Regions from separate parts of the Homo sapiens genome. Here region 2 is linked to region 1. Evidence: promoter capture Hi-C in human tissues and cell types (Jung and others, 2019). All regions are on one chromosome and are shown on one strand. The core of a region is centred on a gene start or on the middle of the fragment in contact, and the rest is flanking DNA. Distances in the headings are between cores, read along the strand shown. Region 1 holds the start of ENTPD3 (ectonucleoside triphosphate diphosphohydrolase 3). Region 2 overlaps ENTPD3 (ectonucleoside triphosphate diphosphohydrolase 3).

What was found. The method cuts DNA at HindIII sites, captures the fragments that hold promoters and counts their contacts. A contact is called where the count stands out against the background at its distance.
Region 2: a fragment that was not itself captured here is called in contact with the fragment with the promoter of ENTPD3 in region 1 in 1 of the 25 tissues and cell types used here (stomach).

The regions. Positions count from the first base shown.
Region 1 is chr3:40,382,712-40,390,092 of GRCh38, reverse strand. It overlaps ENTPD3 (ectonucleoside triphosphate diphosphohydrolase 3), which reads right to left and starts at 2,909. Exons shown (of 11, transcript NM_001248.4): 1 at 2,832-2,909; 2 at 1,996-2,047. The coding sequence starts at 2,035. RefSeq lists a silencer at 2,889-2,988. The HindIII fragment of the contact is 11,676 bases long and covers 1-7,381 here.
Region 2 is chr3:40,421,556-40,428,936 of GRCh38, reverse strand. It overlaps ENTPD3 (ectonucleoside triphosphate diphosphohydrolase 3), which reads right to left. Exons shown (of 11, transcript NM_001248.4): 8 at 5,815-6,087; 9 at 5,536-5,646; 10 at 4,974-5,111; 11 at 193-1,665. The coding sequence ends at 1,429. The region is part of intron 2 of ENTPD3-AS1 (ENTPD3, EIF1B and MYRIP antisense RNA 1); the gene reads left to right. Among named protein-coding and RNA genes, the nearest start is that of ENTPD3-AS1, 28 kb to the left of the region's middle. The HindIII fragment of the contact is 3,293 bases long and covers 1,945-5,237 here.

The DNA.
Region 1 (7,381 bases), core at 1,660-4,159:
CAATTGGCTATCTAAATGTAAATTAATTAAAATAAAAAAATGCAGTCTCTCAATCTTACTAGCCACATTTCCAGTGTTCAATAACCACATGTGGGCTAGTGGCTACTATATTGGACAGTGCAGCCATATAACATTTTCATCATTATAGGAAGATCAATTGAACAGCAATTGGATAGATCCTGTCTTATTCCAGAACATTATTCCTAGATCATTATAACCTATGCTTTACCCCTCCATTATTTCTGTAAGCCATTTTCCCAGAAGAATAACAGGGCATGTCTATGCGCCCACGATATAATTAGATTCAGCCCCCAAATTCAGTCACATCACAACATTTGCTACAGGAGGGCAGTCACGCAGTAGGTCTTCATGGCTCAGAACAGCTAACTCTTTCCATCTCAACTGATTCCCCTGCAGTGTAGCTGCAGTCACAGACACTTCTTGGTGTCAAAGTTGGTCACTTAACACCTTAATCCTCCTACCTTGTCATTGAAAGTGTAAACTGGTACAGCATCAATGGAGGGCAACTTGTCAATATTTATGAAAACTGCAAATAAGCATGCCATCTGACTCACAATCACTCTTTTGGGAAGTTATCCCACAGAACTAGCTCCACATGTGTAAAATGACTTAGACACAAGGTTACTCATTACAGAATTGTGGGTAATAGCAATGGAAAGGAGAGCCAACTGCCATGGAGTTGACCTGCAGAGCATGTAAAGAGGTCCTGTATCACTTTTCTGTGATTCCAAATAAAAGTACAGGAACCAGTTAATCCACAGAGGCAAACTTTTGCATTAGCTTTCAAAGAATGCATTTGTCAGTGTTAGTTATAGAAGTTTAAGGGATTTTTTCCCTCTAACAAAATGGGGTAGAAATTTAATCTGCCAAGTTAAACTTGTCCTTTGGAAGGAATGTAACAGGTTAGTCTGTATGAGTGACGTTACAATCTGTGTTAACATTTCAAAGTGTTTTGGGGGAAAACCTAAAGATCAAAGGAAAACAGCTCCTCAAGTGCAATGTCCCTTTACAAAAATAAAAGTTCATATAGATTGCCCTTACTATCCTAAAATCATATCCTTTTGGAAGACAAGAATACCCAATTTAGGGGCATGACTAAAGAATGTCTATCCATGGGGGAGGAGTGTGTGATATGTATGCAGTTTCCTGACCACAGCTACGTGGCTGGCCTCCTAAGTCTTCTGTGTTTCAGCAGTTTTCAAGTAAAAAGCTATGATTACCTTAAGCAAACTCTTGTCCTTGCAGAAAAGCTTATTACAAAGCAAAATGGATGAGACCAGGTCTTACTCATTTAGGAAATGCAGCCTAGAGCTGTGCTGTCATTAGGGCTGGACAAACATGGTAATTGCAAGGTACCTACCTGAGCTTGGAGAAGCCAGAGCCTTCTGGGCTTCCACATGAGCAACTCCAAAAAGTGCTCTAGAGGCAGGCGGGGCAAGCTTAGAAGTGTGTGTGTGTGTGTGTGTGTGTGTGTGTGTGTGTGTGTCTGTGTGTGTGTGCCTTCCAGTGTGAGAAAATCCTGCACTTGTGCCTGCAGTATCAACCATAACAACACTGACTCACAGTGAGGGGTGGGGGTGTTGTAGGCACTGTGCCAGCAACATTTGGATGGGAATACAGGAAAGATCCAAGTACTGTACAATTGATCACAAAATCAACAATACAGTATTCTAAAGCAAACGTTACACACAGCTAGCTAAGGGAAACCACAAGGGCCAAATTAATGGATTATACAAACCGGAAAAACCATTTAAGTGAAACATGCATGTTAGTCCTTGTTTTGTGTGGCTTTGATGAAAAGCATTACTTTTATTTGAGGAATGCCGGTGTTGAAACCCAGCTGAGTACTGAGTCTCAAACCAATAAAGTTAAACAATCATTTGCAGGGGATATGGATGAAAAACTGTAGGCCGAAGCTGGGGTTCTCTTGCGATTTGGCAAAACCACGCTTGCTACCTGCTGAGAGATACTAACCTGCTTGCTCACATGGTTGGCGGGTCAGCACAGTGAACATCTTTTCTCCTAGCTGCAGGTGAGAGAATACAGGATGTCAGTAAGTCCACCGCCCCGGCCTCACAAGTTTAAAGAACGAGCCCAGGTTAAGACAAAACCCATTTTACTTCCTCCAAATCAAAACCTCATCCCGGGAAAGGTAAGCCGAACCCCAGAACTTCAGAGACAGCCCCAAAGCTGGAGCTTAAATTTCATGTCATCTCCCCAAATGAAAGGAAATGAAAAATGGATTTGCTGAAACTTCAAACTGAAAAGGTTTTCCGAAAAAAGGTCTTTTTCTGCAGATTGTTCCACCTGTACACACACCCAAGAGAGAACAAATCTTCCCCCTATTATTAACATTCACAAAGCTGAGGCGGGGCTTTTTTTCAGAACATGAGCAAGGAAGGTTTTTGTGTGTTCATGGATCGCGAGCCTGGAGCCTCTCTAAAGCCCCGGGAAGGGAGTCTTTAGCTGCTGGCTGGAAATTGCAAAGGGATGTCGGGGCCCTGGGATCCAGCCCCCACCAGGATCTGGGGTCACCTCTCTGGACTGCGTCTCTGCATAGCCGCAGGCATCTAAGCGCCCAGCACATCTGCGGATCCATGCAGGCTGTCGGTAAAGACGCGCCCACCCGTCGTGGGCATGACAGGGACCACCTCCCAGCCGCCCAAGGATTTGGGGCTACCGTGTTTCAGTCTCTTCCTCTGGCCCTCTGAGGAAATCCGATTTTGTTTCTTTGCCTCCCAACTCTCAGTCTCACGCAGCACCCCCGACTCCTTCCTCGGCAGCTCAGGCGCCGGGTCCCCTGATCTTACCTGTGCGGAGCCGATTCGGAGAAGGCGACTAGCGCTGCCGCAGAGGCGGCCCGCGGCCAGCGCTAAGGAGGTGTCAGCTCAGACGCCGGGAGGCGGCGCCGGGTATAGCGGGGCGGGGGCGGGGCGGCCTCGGCCTGGGACCGCCCCCCCCGTCCGTGTCAAGGCCAAGTACCTCTTCACCTTCTTTTCTGATTGCTCTCACCTTCACACCCAGCCCTCGATGGAAGGGGAAGGGAGAGAGAGCGCGCCTCTTGCCAAAAGACCGGCCCTGCCTGCCCAGAGAGCCTTCTGTCCCCCTCCAGGTCGAAGCCAAACAGCACTTCACCTTTCCTCTTTCAGTTCCCTCCACACTCACCTGTACCTGAAGTCGGAGAGGAGGGAGCCAGGCCTTGCCCTGAGAACCCACCGGAGCCTATGTGGGCGAGGGGGAAGGGAGGTGTCTATTATCTGCCTCCTTCTTGCATCTGTGTCAAGACCAAGAACCTTTTGATCTGTCTTCTAGTTACCTCCATTGTCACCCCAACCCTAGGTGGAGGGAAAATGGGGACAAGGCCAGGCAGGGACTGGGCACTCTGTGGGTGTGCATGACCTTATGTGGTCCCCCGGTGGGTGGCTCCTGTGCTCCGTCTCTCCACGGGGTGGAGTAGAGTCAAACACCTGTAATGTTGGGAGTGAGGCCAGTAGGCAGGCTGGCCCCTAGGTCACTTGGGCCTAAAGCACAAAGTATGGCAGGCACATTCCCTTTCACACTTAGCAGAACTGCCTTGGCCATGCCCAGGGCCATTCTTGCTGTTTACTGAGCAATGCTCTGCCCTACCCCATTTAATATGGATGTCATAAGGCCAAAAACTCAAGACAAGTACAGCCCGGAAGAGGCAAAACAGAAAAGATAACAAAAAGGCAGCATGTGGGCTGCCGTGATCCAAACACCCCAGGAGTCTGTCTCAGTGTACAGCAGCAGGCAGCCTCCCGGCTCCTCTGAGTGACCCCAGAGACCCTTGGAGTGATCCCAGCAAGAGGCCTAAGCAGGCCCTGTTTGACCATCCCTCCTTATGGTTCCTGCATGTCTGGAAGGAAGAGCTGAGTCCCTGGCTATACCCTGCCATAGCCTGCTTTCTCCTAGAAATCCACTAATTTTCTGTCCTGTGCAGGTGGGGCCAAAGCCCCTAAGACAAGAAGTCCTTAAGATAGGAATGCCCCTGCTTTGATACCTCTGAGCCCAGAGAGGTGGGCCCCAAGCCTGAGTTATGTGTGTGTGCCTGTGTGTGTGTGTGTGTGTGTGTGTGTGTGTGTGTGTGTGTGCCCGCGCGCAAGAGCACCATGGTCATTCACCCAGAGTTGGATAGAGGTGGACCCCATTGGGGGATTGGGACAGGGTCTGCACTGGGGGTGTCAGACATTCAGTGAATACTTGCTGAATTAAAAGACTTGTTTTCTTTGAAAGCTGTGGGACAATGAAACATAAGGCATATGGCTGGCAGCTGGGGGTCCGTCTGCACCCAGGGGGCTGTAAGTACACAAACAGCTGCTGGCAGTGCACCCGGACCTGAGCTCAGTTAGATAGCCCCAGTGGGTGAATGACTAACCTTAGCATCCCCAGTGACTTCCCAGGGGCTGGGAAAAGGTTTCCAGGCCTAATGGGCCTTGAAAGGCAGTTAGTGCTAGTGTATAAAAATAACAGAGATCAGTCCATGCCAGCTTTCCTCTCTGCTTGCATCAACCTACAGACCTTGTAAGTGTGAGCATCAGCCTCCTTTGAGAGCCCTGTAGTCTCCAATTCTCCTTTTATTTTTCCAAGCTTTTCTGGAAACTCTGCTCCAGGCACTGTGTCAAACTCCTTTGCAGCTTCCAAAGTAGACCTAGTCATTCAAAGGCATTTCCTCATCCACCTTCCACATGCAAGAACACACACACACACAGACACACACACACACTCCTTTGTGAGTTTTCCTGATTATAAAATAATACAGATTTGCCCACCAGCTATCAAAACATATTGTAAAGCCACAGTAATAAAAACAGCCTGGCTTGGGCACAGGAATATACTGAGAGATCTAAAGAACAAAAAAGATAGGCCACAACAGACTATTGGATATAGGATTATAAGATAAAGAACAGGTTGAAATAACATATTATTCAATAACTGGTATTGAAACAACTGGCTCATTTGGAAAAGGATTCTAATTACTCATCACCCACAAAAATAGATTTTAGGTGGTTTAAAAATTTAAATGTATAAAATAATTTGACATACTAAAAAATGTAGAAGAACATTTTTATCATCCTTGGGAAAGAACAGTCTCTTCTACTATGCAGTCAAAGCAGGAAGAGAAATAAAGTCAACAAATTTGAATCCATGAAAATGAAAAATGACTGAATAGAAAGACACCACCCACTGCAACCCCCCCCCACCAAAAAAAAGATAAATTCTCAGGAAATACCTAAGAATGTGACAGTAAAGAGTTTAAAACCGTAAGATATACTAAAGTCTATAGAAAAATATGAATATCTGAAATAGAAAATGGGCAAGTCACATGCATTGGCCAATTTACAAAAGAAATATGAATGGCTGACTAACATGGCAGAGATGCTTAATCTCATTATTTACCAAAAATTGTCAACTAAAACTTTGGTATATTTAAACAAGATTAAAAAAAAACTGATTAGACTTGATTAGCTTAGCAAAGTTTAAAAAGATCTAGGCCAGGCACAGGGGCTCACGCATGTAATCCTAGCACTCTGGGAGGCCGAGGTCAGCTGATCACCTGAGGTCATGAGTTCAAGGCCAGCCTGGCCAAAATGGTGAAACCCCGTCTCTACCAAAAAATACAAAAATTAGCCAGGTGTGGTGGTGCATGCCTGTCCCAGCTACTCAGGAGGCTGAGGCACGAGAATTACTTGAATCTGGGAGGTGGAGGCTGCAGTGAGCTGAGATGCTGAGATCATGCCACTGCACTCTAGCCTGGACTATAGAGCAAGACCCTGTCTCAAAAAAAAATAGCAATAATAATCAGTGGTGCTTGTGTTGGAGAAGGTGCCAGGAAACAGGCCCTCTTGAAGCATCTGATGCGTGCCATGTCCTCCCACTTCTCTAGACAATTTTGCTGGTTCCTGCTCCTTTCCTGGGAGTTTCTCAAGACTCAGTCTCCAGGATTATTTTCTTCTCATTCTGTATTCTTTTCCTAGGTAATCTCATCCATGCCTACGTCTTCTGTTTTATTCACAGAAGCTCTCAAATACAGGGTTCAGGCTTCCCCTCTTGATCTGTAGACCTAGAGAATTGTGTTTTTCATCTTTCAAGTGTCATATAGGCACCTCACATTTACAGGGTTTCAAGCAGAGCTCCTTATCTTCCCCTACCAAACCATCAACTCCTCAAGCATTTCTCATCTCGGCACTCCCCACTCATCCAGGTGAGCAAGCCAGAAACCTGAGGGTTGCCTTTGATAGTCTTTCCCCCATTATACACGATCAATCAGTCACTAATTACTGCTGATTTTAGCCTCTTAATCGTCTCTGCAATATGTACTTCCTTCTCTCTCAGCCACCATCTTGGTCTGAGCCAGGATTTCTCAGTTGGAGCACTATTGATATTTCAGGTCAGATGATTGTTGAGGGAACTGCCCTGTATATTGTAGGATGTTTAGTAGCATCCTTGACCTTTCCCTACTAGTTGCCAGTAACATCCTCCCACACATGGTGTGACAACCAAGAATGTCTCAAGACATTGCCAAGTGTCCTCAGAGGAGTAAAATTTCCCTGGTGAGAACCACTGGTCTAAGCTACCATGCACACTTTTCTGGATCTTGGCAACGGTCTCACACATCTCTCTGTGTCCATTTTCTTCCTCTCTGATCCATTTTCCCAAGCCAACAGGCCCCATCTCTTCAAAACCCAGATCTCTCTGTGTCAAAACTCTCTGTAAAACACTCTTCTATGCTGTCCATTTCTTAGTGGATTCACAATCAGATTCTCAATGTGACCTGGAAGGCCCTGCAAGGTATATTCTCTATCTCTCTTTCCAGTCTCTATTAACCCATACTACTTCTTACTTCATGCTCTGAAGACAAACCAGCCTTCTTTCAGTTTTTCAAATATATCATGTTTACTCCTGCCATAGGACCTTTGTACATTATTTTACTAATTAGCACTTGTTTATACTTTTTTTCTCACTTCAGTCATTTCACTGATACTTCCCCGGCATCCCCTAATCTGGATCATACATCCAAACTGGGTCAAGTCCCTAAATTATGTGCTTTTAAAGCAGGCATTCCTTTCTTTCAGCTAGAGTTTCATTACAGTCGTTGTTGAGCAAATGACCCCTGTTGCTTATCACCAAAGCAGCAGTCCCAGGATGTTAACTTACTGTATGGTTTGGAGATGTCCATGTCACCAAGAAAGATGATTCACACAGGCACTGGATGGAAAACACTTTACTCATATAGAGAAGAGATGGAACAGGATTAGCTTCAGTGATGACTGTGTGCCCCCATGGCAGTGGGTCTTGACCTCTAGCTGATGCAGGGAGATGGAATGCATACACTGCTCTG
Region 2 (7,381 bases), core at 2,342-4,841, 38 kb before region 1:
AGAGAGGATGGCGGGAGCAAAGGTACAGTTTGGGATAGGAGTAGCCGTTCTGGATGAGAACCAAGATTTGAGTGTCAGGTTGTGGACTCACAGAGGCTTAGAATTTCAAATAAGGTACAGAAATGCTTGACTCAATAATCTCAAGCAGTCAAAGGTTTATCAAAGTAAAAGCACTTTGAACTCTCTGGAATAAAGGTGATATTAATGAATGGGTTTCTTAATTTGCTAGGGAAAAAAATTTCTCTCATAAATATCACCTAGGGTCCTTAGGAGAAAGAGTACCATATGGAAGTTAACACACACACACCCCTTGCAAGTCAAAATAAAATAATAGTTCTTTATTCCATATTCAGCTAAGAAACAGCAATATGAAATAATGCTGATTTTTAGTTTGTAGCCATTGGATTTGCTGGAGTTCTTTCTCATTCGACTTTGGAGATAAATATTCCTGCAGCTTCCTTTTCTTTCCCCAAAGTCAAGACCTATGACTACTATGCAGAGAGGTCTATGATCTGGGAAAGTAATTGGTTAGTAAATCATAGAGTAGGATGTTCGTTCTATGACAACATCAAGTATACTTGTGGGAATGGTGACAAAAATATATACACCATGATAACAATGGAAAGTCAGCCCTTTGCTAAGCAAAAGCCTAGCAAAGGCAGTAAAATCTGGAATGCAATAATCTTGCTAGGGATCAATGTGTTTTTATGGGAGGGCATAGCAATACAATGGTGAGATGAGGATGATGACAAACACACAGGTTGCAATCTAGTGACCAGAGCCCTAAGTGGGAATTCCACTTGGAGAATGGTCTATAGTTTTCTGGGAGACCTTTTTTATGTCTCTGTGCTTCGGGATCTACCTGTATGACAGAAGCCTGGCTGTGGCTGCTGCCCTGAAGGAAGTAAGTCTTCTCCCCCAGATACTATATTCTACTGATCTGAGGGGGTTCACTGCTTACGAGATTGCTACAAGAAAGTCTTAGTTAAAGACCAATGGGAAAAACTATAAAATGAGATTCTGATTGGCGAAATGCTTAATGGGTATCTTGCCAGGAAGAATACTGAGGGAGGGAAATGGAAACTGAGCCCTGAGGTCAATTCTTCAACATTAAACTGATACCTTCTCAACTTACTCTTCCTCTGGGGAACTTAATATAAAGAGCCTGACCTTCGTGGCCTGTCTCTTCTCTGTTCCCCAATAGATCAGCATGTGGGTAGTGAGGTCTCTGAAGAACAATATGCACAGAATAGCCAAGGGATGCCTCAAGAGGTGCTGTGGCAGAAATCAGTATTTGAGAGGCACGTGACCTAGGTGTTTGATTTTAGTTAGTTGTATTTCCTGAAGGCAGCCACTTCACCTGCATTGCCTGGTGCCACCCAGGCTGACTCTAAGCAGCCATTGGACTCCAGGAGCTGCTTTGAAGGCTCAGTCAGAATCCACTGCATGGTCAAAGGCATGCTCGGAGTGCCTCTTTCTTCTGGTTGCTGAACACAGGTATGCAAGAAATGCCAGACACAGCAAGGCTGCCGCTGTGAAGAAAGCGAGGGTGCCCACAAAGACAGGTGGTTCTATGGGCAGACGGATCAGAGGGCTTTCAGCTGGGATCTGGTTGGTCAGGCTGAGCATGTAGCCAAGAGACCAGGCTATGCTGCTATTCCCCACCTGTGGAGTAGAGGAGATGGCTCAGCGCTCAGGGCAAGGCTCAAGGCTGCAATCACATACCGGAGTCATACTGCTATCAACCTCACAAAGCTCCCATGGGAAATTGTGGCCCAAAGAGGTCAAAGGACTTGCCCAAGTTAAGACACCACACTGTAGCCACAAAGGCTTGGGGAAATCTCACCTCCAGCGCTGCAGAAGAAATAGTCAAAAGAACAAATTCTCACAATCTTGTCACAGCCAAGAGTGAAGACGGCACAGTTAATAACAGTGAAAGTGTTCCTGTTGTCCAGGAGCACAGGAGTGTTTGTGGCTAGAGAAAGAGGCTAATGAGTGGTTTACTGATCCCAGGACCAGTTCCTAAGAATAGAAAATCAGCCCAAATGGGAAGCTGACTGTCAATTTATTCTGGTAGTTCTATCTATTTTTGCTTTACATGTTTTTAGGGTGTTTTATTAGGTGTATAAATGTTTCACCTTTGCAATCTTCATAGTGAATTGAACATTTTATCATTATGTTGTAACCCTCTGTGTCTAGAATGAGGCTCTTGGTCTTAAAGACTGCTTTGCCAGATACTAAATAGTTATACCAGCTTTCTTTTGGGTAGTGTTTGATAATTTAACAAAATTATCTTTCTATCTTTCCATGTCTTTATGCTTGAACCATGTTTCTCTTATAAATGGCACCTGCTTGATTTCTAAAAATTCAATTTGACATCTCTCTTTTAACTGGTAGGTTTAGTCCATTTATAATTATTGTGATTATTAATATATTTACACTTCTTTCTAATATCTTACTTTTAAATTTTCAATTAGTGCTATTTTTCTATATATATTTTTTCTTCTTTCCTGCCTTAAAAATGATATCTGTGGCCAGTCATGGTGGCTCACGCCTATAATCCCAGCACTTTGGGAGGCCGAGGCGGGATCACCTGAGGTCAGGAGTTCAAGACCAGCCTGGCCAACATGGTGAAACCCTGTCTCTACAAAAATACAAAAATTAGCCAGGCATGATGGTGGGTGCCTGTAATCCCAGCTACTCAGGAGGCTGAGGCAGGAGAATTGTTTGAGCCCAGGAGGCGGAGGCTGCAGTGAGCCAAGATCACACCATTGCACTCCAGCCTAGGCGACAGAGCGAGACTCCGTCTCAAAAAAAAAAAAAAAAAAAGAAAAGAAAAAGAAAAAGATATCTCTGTGTTTCCTTTGACAAGAAGAGAATTTTAGGTTACTCTTATGTCCCTGTATCTTATAACTCCTTACCACACCCTTATCATGTGGATATTTTCTATACTTGAGTCATATGAATGGAGTTTTTTTTAAATACTTTTCTTTAGTGTTCGTTTTCTGTTTTTTTTAATATAATTTTTTTTTTTTTTTTGAGACAGAGTCTTGCTCTTTCGCCCAGGCTAAAGTGAAATGGTGAGATCTCGGCTCACTGCAACCTCCACCTCCCAGTTTCAAGCAATTCTCCTGCCTCAGCCTCCTGAGTGGCTGGGAGTACAGGCACATGCCACCATACCCAGCTAATTTTTTGTATGTTTAGTAGAGACATGGTTTTGCCATGTTGGCCAGGCTGGTCTCGAACTCCTGACCTCAAATGATTCACCTGCCTCGGCCTCCCAAAGTGCTGGAATTACAGGCATGAGCCACAGCACCCGGCTTTTTTAATGTAAATTTTAAGCCACAACATCATTTATTCTTACTTCCAGTGTTTTTGTAACATCTCCTGGATTTATTTCTCTTCTTATTTTATTACTTCCACCAAAAATATTTTCATTGTAAGTCTTCTGTGCAGCAAATCTTCTCAAGTCTTTTTACACCTTCACATTTTTATTTATTTATTTTTATTTTTATTTTTTGAGATGGAGTTTTGCTGTTGTTGCCCAGGCTGGAGTGCAATGGCGTGATCTCGGCTCACGGCAACCTTCACCTCCCAGGTGCAAGTGATTCTCCTGCCTCAGCCTCTGAGTAGCTGGGATTACAGGCATGCACCAACATGCCCAGCTAATTTCGTATTTTTAGTAGAGACAGGGTTTCTCCATGTTGGTCAGGCTGGTCTCAAACTCCTGACCTCAGGTGATCCGCCTGCCTCGGCCTCCCAAAGCGCTGGGATTACAGGTGTGAGCCACCGTGCCCAGCCTACATCTTCACATTTAAATACTAATTTGGCTGGACACAAAATTCTTTATAATTAAAAAAAGGGAACTTTTAACTTAGAATATTATGTCAACTCAAACTGGCATTCAAATGGAAAGTCATTCTCCATTCTTATAATATACTTTACTGGTAATTAGATTTATTAGAAGCAAAGCTTAGAGAGTACATGCTACCAACAGTCCTTATGTCTCCAGACATCCTTATTTTTTTGTAGATGACTCAATTTTATTTATGTAAAAGTAGATAGTCAGAGGCCTAATGCAGGATATTGATTGGTTTAATCTAATTATTGCTGAAGCTGGTATTGAACAGGCTGACTCCAGACATCCTTCAGGCTTCATATCAGCTATTCCTGAAATGAGAAAATTCTCTGGAACCTGGGGAACATAGTGCTGGCTGAACATATTCACAAGGCTTAGCCCTGCCTAAAAACAAGGTATGGAGGTCCTTTCACCTGTCACCAGGTGACAGCTGTGATTCCAGCTTTGGACCATTCTGGTCACTTGACCATCATATATATATATGTATGTATTTATAGATATCTATAAATATACATATTTTTAAATATATTAAACCCTGAGCTAAGAATATCTTCCCCATCCCCCAAATCTTTGTCAGTAAATATAATGACTTCAGGTTCATTCAAAGAGAAAATATTTATTTAATGCTAATGCAAATCCATCAGGCCCTAAGGCCTGTATCTTACTCTGATATCTGAATAAAATGGAGAAGAATTAGTTACTATCCTCTTTAAAAAACTGTTACATTTAAAGCTTCTTTTCAGGATGAAAAGTCTCATATCCTTAACATATTTATTTATGAATTCAACCAACATTTACTAAGTACCTTCTAGGCTCTATTCCTTGTGCAGAGTGCTGGGAATATGAAGATACCAAGACAGGTCTCTGCCCTCCAGGACCGCCTAGTCCATTGGCCCTTGGCTTCCAGTCTTTTCCAGGAGAATGTATACCCATGAGCAACTCTTCTAAATTCTCCATGACCTCTTCTGGGAAACTCACAAGGGATCAGTCTGATCAGCTTCCACCCAGTGAGTTTAACTCATTAATACCCTTTTACCTTCTACATTTGTTCCACACACACATACAAACCTCTCTGTTGGGAAGAAGAAGAGAAAATGATTTGTGCTTAACTTACTTCTTTTTCAAAGTGTATTTGGGGCCAAGTCTCCTCTGTGAATTTGTAACCGTTCACAAACAAGTGGTAGATGTAGTTGGCTGAGAAGCAGTAAGAGCGGGCATATACCTCATCAAATTTGGGGAGCAGCAGTGGGAGCTGAAAGGTTTAAAACATCTGAGAGGCAGGGCAGGCAGGTATGTTTTAAAATGAACACCTTGGGTTAAAAGTCATGTTTTAAAGAATCTTATCACCCATAATTTCATAATAGAAAATACTTTATAATACAATCATATAATCACACAATATAATTATGAAAATATCCCTATATAATATCACAATATACTAATCTTTAAACTCATTGAGTGCTTATTATATGCCAAATATTGTTCTAACCATTGTGCATGTAGTTATAACATTAATTCACACCACAGGTGTGGGAGTAGATTCCCTTATTCCTTTTATTTTACAGATGTGATGGAAATAGAAGAGCATAAAGGCTAAATTCAGAATACACACACATAGAATAGATTCTACCATATTTTTTTGTACTGACATTGATCCCTTCTCTTTAAATACTGACCTGACTCCAATTCTGTGAGCAGAAATTCCAGGTGCTGGAGTTGAAGGTGTCCAGGGAAAAGCTACCTGAAAGATTTAAAGCACTGGCTGTGTAGTAGAATCCTGCAAAAGCCTGGAAATAAGTAATACAGAAGAAAATTAGTTCTCAGAATGGGGTATAATAGAAAGGTTTATGGGTGAGGAATAAGAAGGTGGCTAACAAGTCAGCAGAGGAGAAACAGAAAAGTGAGAAATGAATATTCAATGGGGAAAGGAATCTTTCAGAAGGTTTTGCTCTTACCACAAATGGCCCTTTAATCTTTGGCTGATAAACCCCATCAAAAGAACAGGTTTCTTGATCATGGCAAGCTTTGAAGTCAAATATGGAAGCCACCTTCTCCTTACACAGAGATGGGTCCCCAGTTCCTTCAAAAGTGATGACATCATTGGGGTTATAACTTTCTGGCCTCTGGTCCACAGTGCACAGGCTATCAAATACATGGCCCATGGTGAAGCTGATGCTATAATCCCGAGGGTAACAGGGATTGGTGAGATGGTTTTTGGTAGGAGAATTCTGTAGGTATAAGAGTAAGGTGTTAGACACGTATGTTTATTGCGGCACTATTCACAATAGCAAAGACTTGGAATCAACCCAAATGTCCAATAGTGATAGACTGGATTAAGAAAATATGGCACATATACACCATGGAATACTATGAAGCCATAAAACATGATGAGTTCATGTCCTTTGTAGGGACATGGATGAAATTGAAAATCATCATTCTCAGTAAACTATCGCAAGGACAAAAAACCAAACACCACATGTTCTCACTCATAGATGGGAATTGAACAATGAGAACACATGGACACAGGAAGGGGAACATCACACTCTGGGGACTGTTGTGGGGTGGGGGGAGGGGGGAAGGATAGCATTAGGAGATATACCTAATGCTAAATGACGAGTTAATGGGTGCAGCACACCAGCATGGTACATGTATACATATGTAACTAACCTGCACATTGTGCACATGTACCCTAAAACTTAAAGTATAATAATAATAATAATAATAAAATCTCTAAGTAAAAAAAAAAAAAAAAGAGTAAGGTATTAGAAACCACTTTTTTTGTGGAGAGCCAAGTATTTCCCTTTTGCAAATTCTATCACTACCCTCCAATGCCAAGAGAGAAACAAAAAATACCATTCTGTGTCAGCATGTCTTTGATCACAGGTTGTCTAGATAATTCAAGTAGGGGTGGGAAAAGGGTGTGTGTGTGTGTGTGTGTGTGTGACAATTACCTCGTACCAGGCATAGCGCTAGGCTCTCTCTCACATTATCTGATCCAGCTCTTATGATAGCCCTATGAACCAGGTTTTATGAACTTCACTTGGTGAGAAAATGGATATATATAATGTATCATTTTAAGTAGAATATCACCCATCCATCTAGCAAAATAATCCAAAAGGTACAAATAAACATATGAAAGTGAAGTCTCCTTCTCATCCACTTGCAGCCATCAGGCCTTTTTCTGGAAACAATCACTATTGCCAGTTTTTGTGTATCCTTCCAAAGATCTGGCATGCACATGCAAATATATATATTTTCTCCCATGCTTTTCTTTTTTTAAAGCCATAAATGGTAGCACTTTATATACCCCATTCTACCCGTTGCTTTTCTCACTTAAAATTATATATCTTTGAGATCTTTCCATTCATTGTACTTATACAGTGGCCTATTTTTTTAGTAGCTGCATAGTATTCCACTGTACAAATAAACCATACTTTATTTAAGGAATATCATCTAGATGAACATTGAGGTGGTTCCCAATCATTTTGCCATTACAAACAAATATCCTTGTCACATATAAAT